2 separate regions of the Homo sapiens genome follow, and region 1 is linked to region 2. Evidence: promoter capture Hi-C in human tissues and cell types (Jung and others, 2019). All regions are on one chromosome and are shown on one strand. Each heading gives the region's core, a stretch centred on a gene start or on the middle of the fragment in contact. The rest is flanking DNA. Distances are from core to core; before and after follow the strand shown.

What was found. The method cuts DNA at HindIII sites, captures the fragments that hold promoters and counts their contacts. A contact is called where the count stands out against the background at its distance.
Region 1: a contact is called between a fragment that was not itself captured here and the fragment with the promoter of OXTR in region 2, in 3 of the 25 tissues and cell types used here (IMR-90 fibroblasts, aorta and mesenchymal stem cells).

What each region holds. Positions count from the first base shown.
Region 1 is chr3:8,822,449-8,826,452 of GRCh38, reverse strand. It overlaps LOC107986061 (a long non-coding RNA gene), which reads left to right. Exons shown (of 2, transcript XR_001740592.2): 1 at 1-2,184; 2 at 2,221-4,004. Among named protein-coding and RNA genes, the nearest start is that of OXTR, 55 kb to the right of the region's middle. The HindIII fragment of the contact is 6,649 bases long and covers 1-4,004 here.
Region 2 is chr3:8,768,363-8,772,029 of GRCh38, reverse strand. OXTR (oxytocin receptor) reads left to right here and starts at 2,417. Exons shown (of 4, transcript NM_000916.4): 1 at 2,417-2,799; 2 at 3,439-3,534. RefSeq lists enhancers at 2,253-2,302, 2,950-3,621. The HindIII fragment of the contact is 11,538 bases long and covers 1-3,667 here.

The DNA.
Region 1 (4,004 bases), core at 778-3,277, 55 kb before region 2:
GTGTCCCGCTCTGATTACATTTTTCTCTCTCTGCCATCACTAACTTTTAGCTTCATTTTTGTGTTCAGCTTTCCTTGCTCTTCTTTACAGTTTTAGAACCTGTACTTTATTCCCAATTATATTGTTTAGTTTTGTCTGTTTTGGAGCAGTACATAAATGACATCTTCTAAGTGTATGCTTTTGTGTCTCCATTTTTTTTGCTCAAGGTTATGTTTTTTAAGTTTATCCAAGATGATGTTTATTTTCCCTGCTCCATAGTTTTCCACTGATATTCAGTGTATTTTTCCATTTTACTGTAGATGGACATTTGTATTTTTTCTGGTTTTCATGTATTATAAACTATAGATACATATAATATAAACAATATAGTAGTGAATGTTCTTCTACACATTTCTTGGTGTGCAAGAAGGGTTATAGGATATACATATCTTCAATTTTACTTAGTCATACAAACTCTTTTCCAAAGTGATTGTACCAATTTACAATCTCAAAGCAGTGTGTGACTTTCTATTGTGCTATAATATTGCTATCACTTGGTATTGACTTTGCCAAAATGGTGAGCATGAAATAATTTACGTTGTGTATATCTCTGATGTCTGTTGAGGGTTGAGGTTGCATATTTCTTCGTATGGGACCAAAAGCCTTTACTTTTCTCTGAAATACTTGTTCTTTTATCTTGCTCATTTTTTTTTGACCGGGCTATGTATTAGTCAGGGTTCTCCAGAGAAACAGAACAAATAGGAGATACATAGGGAGAGATTTATTGTGAGGAATTGGCTCACATGTTTACAGAGACTGAAATGTCCCATGATCTGCTGTCCACAAGCTGAAGACCCAGGAAAGCTGGTGGTGTAATTCCATTCTGAGTCCAAAGGCCTGAGTACTAGGAGAGCTGATAGTTTTATACTAGTCTATGGGCAGGAGAAGGCAGTTGTCTCAGCTCAGTCAAAGACATTAAGCAAAAATTCCTCCTTCCTCTGCCTTTTTTGTTTATCTAGGCTCTCAATGGGTTGAATGATGCCCACCAACATTGAGGAGGCAATCTACTTTACTGGGTCCACTGATTCAAATACTAATCTTATCTTGGAAAACCCTCACAGACACACTCAGAAGCAGTGTTTGGTCTGGGCACCCCATGGTGCAGTCAAGTTGATACATAAAATTAACCATTGTGGGCTATTTGCTTTTTTTCTTAGTGATTTCTAGGAGCTGTTCTATATTCTAGATAAGGGCTTCTCAACAGAACTTTCTGTGATGATAGAAATGTTCTCTGTCTGCACTGTCCAATATGGTAGCCACTAGCCACATGCTACTGAGCATTTGAAACTAGTGCAGCAGAGGAACTAAATTTTCAATATTATTTTTAGTGTGTTTATTTATTTATGTATTTATTTTGAGATGGAGTTTTGCTCTTGTTGCCCAGGCTGGAGTGTAGTGGCGCGATCTTGGCTCACTGCAACTTCTGTCTCTCAGGTTCAAGTGATTCACCTGCCTCAGCCTCCCAAGAAGCTGGATTACAGAGGCATGTACCACGACACCCAGCTAATTTTTTTATTTTTGGTAGATATGGGGTTTCACCATGTTGGTGAGGCTGGTCTCAAAATCCTGACCTCAGGTGATCCACCCACCTTGGCCTCCCAAAGTGCTGGTATTACAGGCGTGAGCCACTGTGCCCAGTCTATTTTTAGTTTTAATAGCCATATATCTAATAGCTGCCATCTTGGACAGCAGAGGTCTAAGTAACAATTATTTGTTGGCTTTAAGTTTTGCAAATGTCTTCTCCAAGTTTGTGAACTGTCTTTTCACTCCTTTCAAGTTGCTTTTGATGAACAGAAGTCCTTAATTTTAATGTATTGAATATTATTAACCTGTTCCTTTACAGTTGGTGTATTTATATATCTTGTTTATAAAATCCTTTCTCATACTTTCTTATCTTAGTATATTTTCTTATACTGAGGTCTGAGGAACTGATTTTTGTGTTTATAATTTTCTTCCCTCATGAGTCATCAGTTTTCCTAGCACAGTTTACTGAATGAGCCTTCTTTTCCTCACCAATCTGCAGGACTGCCTGTATCAATCAGGGTACTGGCGAGAAACAGAAGGCACACTCAAACATTAACATTAAAGAGAGTTTAAAAAAGGCAGTATTTACAAAGGAGAGGCTGAGGTAAGGGAAACTAATAGGTGATGAAGCACCTATTAGTGAAGCATCACTAATAGGTGATGAAGCAGTTTCAACTGGCAAGAGCTGAAACCCTTACCACTTCTAACCTTGAGAGTCAAGGAAAGGCAGGAGTTACTGGACCCAGAGGGAGGAGTGGAGGAAGACCTCCAAATAGAAGGGGAGACTTCCACAGAGAAACATACCAATCACCTTGACCCAGGAGAGACAGAGTTGGCCAGAGGACTAAACACCTGTCTGCTCAACCTCATGCTGTCCCTCCTGTAGATTTGGTGGTAAATCCACCATAACCCAGCTGGAAGCCAGAGGGCAGGGAACCCACCAATGCAGGCCACAGAGGTCTGCTCTGGAGTACAGAACTGAGTGGAGCAGGTTGGAGACTGCATCTGGGTGAACAAATAAACCATCAAGCACACCTGCATGGTTATAAATCTATTTTCCATAAATGCATGGGTAGGTACAAGATCTCTCTCCATACTGTGCCACTGATCTATTTGCAGCACTCCACGCTGCTTTAAGTATTAAAGCTTTAAATATATTTTCATATTTGAGAGGGCAAGAATCATCACCTTGTTTTTCCTCTTCAGGAATGTCTTGGCCATTCCCTGCCTTTTGTTCTTCCATTTATATTTCAGAATCAGCTTGCCAGTATTCATGAAGAACTCTGTTGGAATTGTGACGGGAGTTGCAATGAGTCTCTAGATCAATTGGAAGAGAGCTGACATATTTACAATTCCTTCCACGGATAGGGTTTATGTCTCCACATACTTAGGTCTTATTTAATATATTTCTTAATAAGGTTTTATCATACTCTCTATAAAGAGCTTCCTTTTTTTGTTATTTTTTTTCTAGGTACCTATTTTTGTTGCTATGGTAAATATCTTTTTTTTTTAAATAAAAAAGTCACTTTTTGCCTGATGCTTGTATATAAAAATGAAATTATTTTTGTCTATTTTGGACTGAGCAACCTTACTAAATTATCTTAGTAATTCTAATGATTTACCTGAGAGTTCTTTGGAGTTTTCTTTGCAGACAGACGTATTATCTGCAAATAATGATAGTGTTGTTTCTTCCTTTACAATCCATATATCTTTACTTTTTAATCTTCTGTACCATTTAGGACTTCTAGTTAAGTGTAGAATAGAAGTTGATATTAGCATACATCCTTAACTTTCAGGCTCCTGATTTTCAGGGGAATGCTTTCAATATTTCAACATTAATTATAATGCCCTCTGTAACTTCTTGTAGAAGCACTTTATCACGTTAATCAAATGCCCCCTACTATTTCTAGGTTAAGTGTTTTTGTTTTTAACATGAAAGTAAGTCGAATTTTATTAAATGCTCTTACTGCATTAATTGGGGTTATCATAGGAGTTTTCTTCCAACCGCATTTGGAATAGTCCAATTTCTAATTGCTAAATTCCTACCCAGTTTTCAAGGGTAGGATCATTCCCCACTCCCCATCATAAGGCATCCCTTTTCCTCTCCCTTTATTTCATAGTCCCTTTGTAGAAGGAAATCATATATTCACTTATGCATCCCCCAATGCCCAGCACACAAGCACATAGTAAATGCTAACAAAATGTCGGTTGAATTATGGAGCGAGTCATTCTTGTGGCACTTTATAGCTTTGATTTTATACTTTCATATCCACGTTTCTTTTCTCGCCTCTGGACTGGAAGCTTTAGAGGACAGAGTCCACATCTGATGATTCTCGTTATTCCTCTAGGACACAATCCAGGGACTGATTCAGAACCTTGTTCACCAATAGATGATTCCTTGCTTTCCTTGGTAAACTCCATCATCAAAACCATCCAACCAG
Region 2 (3,667 bases), core at 1,168-3,667:
GCTGACGTCAAAAGTAAGCAGAACTGAGAACTGAATTTCCTCCCTGTTATTCAGTATCACTCAATATTAAATTCACATTTAACACTATCAGAAAGTATTCCATCCCATATTTTGGGGAATGTTGGGTTACAGAATAAAACCCATTCTCCTTTACATGGCCTTGAAGTTCCTTTAGCATCAATAAGTACAGTTATCTCTTGGTATCCATGGGGGATTGGTTCCGGGAGCCTTCAAGGTACACAAATCCCTGATATAAAATGAAGCAGTATTTGCATATAACACGTGCATATCCTCTCACATACTTTAAGTCATCTCAAGATTACTTGTAACACCTAATGCAATGTCACTCGTCACTGCATTTGTGTGCATTCAGTGTTGTAGGTGGCACATGACAAATTCAATTTTTGCTTTTTGGAACTTTGAGGATTTTTTTTCCTGAATATTTTCAATCCATGATTGTTTGAATCCACTGAACTCACAGATACAGGGATATAGAGGGCCAACTGTATGTATTAAGTGCTGGCAATGTGCTAGGCACCAAGCAATTCATCTTTAGTCCTTCCTCCAAAACGCCAAAGTGATTCCCCTGCACCACTCTCTGAGAAGTATGCCTTTTTTCTTTGCTTCCTGGAGAACTCATTCTGGAGCTCTGAAATCCAGCTACCTCTTTGTAAAACGATCTCCCAAGTATTACCTCAGCCCCCAGCAGTCCTCACTTCTGTAACATCATTTATTGTTGTCACACTGCAAATATTAGGTTGATGCAAAAGTAATTGCAGTTTTTGCCATTATTTTTAATAGCAAAAACCACAATTACTTTTGCACCAATCTAATATGTGTTTTTCTCCCTGGCCGAAGCTCAAAGGTGAAGGAGCATGTCTTATTCATTGTTAGGAGTTTTCAAGGGGACCTCTCTATTTCCTGCCTGGTTTCTGCACACAATGAGAAATAAAACAAAAGACAGGAAATGGGGATCACACTATTACTGTTGTTGTTATTGTTGTTGTTTAGATTAAAACTAAGTTAGAGAATTTACCTTTTGCATGAGACTAAATAGCCCTGTTAGGTGAATCCAGAATTAGGCTGTCTCACGGGCTACGCGAGGACCACACAGGTAGGCAGGCTTCCCTACAAAGGGTAGAAGAGTCTGTCCTTGGTGAAGTGGCTCAGTAAACTTGCTCCCTAGAAAGCAGCTGTCTTCCAGGAGAAAGAAGGGCAGGCTTGGTTCTACAGGCCAGTGTTTTCCTTCTCACATTCACCGGTCAGGGGCTCATAGGGAAAAATCTGCCTTCATCCAGCCGTGGAGTGAGGCAGGGGTGTTTTACCTGCTAGGATTGAACCCTCAGATTGCACAGATTATACAGTTTCAGAAAACCAGAGGGACAGGACCTCAGACATTAGCTATCTTGACCAGTGCTCTCATTTTACATATGAGGAGACTGAGGCCCAAAGAGAAGGGGCTTGCCCAAGGTCACTTCATTCTCACCTGAGTCGTCTGTAACTTTAATCTGTAATTTTCGAGGCCGATAGGTACTATTGACTAATATTGATTAATACTGCCTGCCACCCCTTGGCAATGCTGTCAAGATTCCCAGCCCCATTCTGGAATGATTACTCAGCTAGAACCCTGGGATCCAGGTGCTGTAAGGTTGGCCCCTGGGATATCTCGGCATGGGGCTGTAATTGTGGATTAAGGAAACCCAGTCCTTGGCTAACTCAAGTCTCTCCACATAATAAAAAGACGGAGAAGTGAAATGTCAGGAGGAAATACACATTTAATGCATTTTAAAGAGCCCTGTTTATTTTTGAATCCTGGCCTTTTTTTCTGACTTAATTCTTGGCCACTGTAAATTACTTCAAAAAATGATTTTAGAATAGAGAAGGGGCAGGGAGGCTGAGAAGCTGTCTTTAACATTTTATCTTCCTTTGGCATCATTTAGAATTTTAATTCCGAAGCGCGACAAGGAGGCAGAAACGGCTCTTGGGCGCAGACAAGCAGAATCACTTTAAATGAAGACAGTGTTGTGCTTCAGAATTTCCTCTAAAACTACCGAAAAAATAACGCCTCTCCCAGCACTGCTTAGAATAGAGGCCATTTCTAATTCCTCATTAACGGGAATAGGAACAAAAGTATTCCAAAGCAAAGACTTATTTGAGTTCACTGCTAAAGCCGCTACATCAAGCTGGAGGTGTGGGGGGAGAGAAAAGCCTGAAAATTAACATCATTTTTGGGAAATAATCAGTTTAAATGCTTTTGTAACTTCATCACTATCTACCCGGGGAAGAACATTATTATTCAAGCCTCCTATGTGTCTCGGAGTCAAGAGCTTCTAAACCAAGAAAGGAAGAAACGGGCGGGTTATTGACGAGTTCCCTCCCTCTCGCAGTTTTAAACCACTGCAAAATAAACCCATTTGTTAAGGCTCTGGGACCAACGCTGGGCGAACCAGCTCCGCTCCGGAGGGGTCTGCGCGGCTGGCCTCGCCCGCCCCCTAGCGGACCCGTGCGATAGTGCAGCCTCAGCCCCAGCGCACAGCGCCGCATCCAGACGCTGTCCGCGCGCGCAGCCTGGGAGGCGCTCCTCGCTCGCCTCCTGTACCCATCCAGCGACCAGCCAGGCTGCGGCGAGGGGATTCCAACCGAGGCTCCAGTGAGAGACCTCAGCTTAGCATCACATTAGGTGCAGCCGGCAGGCCATCCCAACTCGGGCCGGGAGCGCACGCGTCACTGGGGCCGTCAGTCGCCGTGCAACTTCCCCGGGGGGAGTCAACTTTAGGTTCGCCTGCGGACTCGGTGCAGGTAGCTGGGTGCTAAGCAGGGGTGGACGGGATGGCTAGGGCCGGTGGAGCCATCGGGACCCGAGTGGAGGTGGTGGGGTGCCTCGCACTCCTTGTTCCTGGAGGAGCTCGGGGTGTTCCGAGAGATTGTAAAGTGACTTCTCGGGATTGAGACTCAGAGTCCTTGATTATCTGGGTCCAAAGCGCAAGTCAGGGGTTCCAGAACTTTCGAGGCTGCCGGGCTGGGGAGGAGCCCCGCGGGAGGTGTCTATGCCAGGGTCTGGGAACAGCGCTTGGGCATCTTGGGCTTTGAGGCAGGGGTTCCCCCAGCAGGGACTGCAGAACCGGGTTTCCACCGAAGCAGGTGCTGTGGAAGTTCAGGGAGTGACGGCCGACCGTCTTAGAAAAGGGGGTTAGACGGGGAAGGACCAGAGCTGGGGTTTCCCAGGCAAGTGGCTATTTGGGGATTTCCGGAGGAAGTACTTGAATTAATGTTTACTAGGAGAGGGGCTGGTTTGGGGGTCCCGCGGCAGGTGGATATGCTGAGGGTCGGAGCCTGGGGCGAGTAGGTAGTTTGGAGATTCCCTCGGGGAGGTGATTTGGTTTTAGATTCCCACTCCCGGAGGAACGTTGCTGATTTTGACCCTCCCTTCTCCCCCAGTGGAAGCCGCTGAACATCCCGAGGAACTGGCACGCTGGGGGCTCTGGGCTTGTGGCCGGTAGAGGATTCCCGCTCATTTGCAGTGGCTCAGAGGAGGTACCTCCAACGGGGATTTCTGGGGTGGCGGCTGAGCAACCCGAGGCCGGCGGTTGTGCCCTGTTGTTTCAGATGAGTTGGGTTCCTGGGAATGGGACAAGCACGCCCTACCCGCGTCGGAAGAGAAACGCGG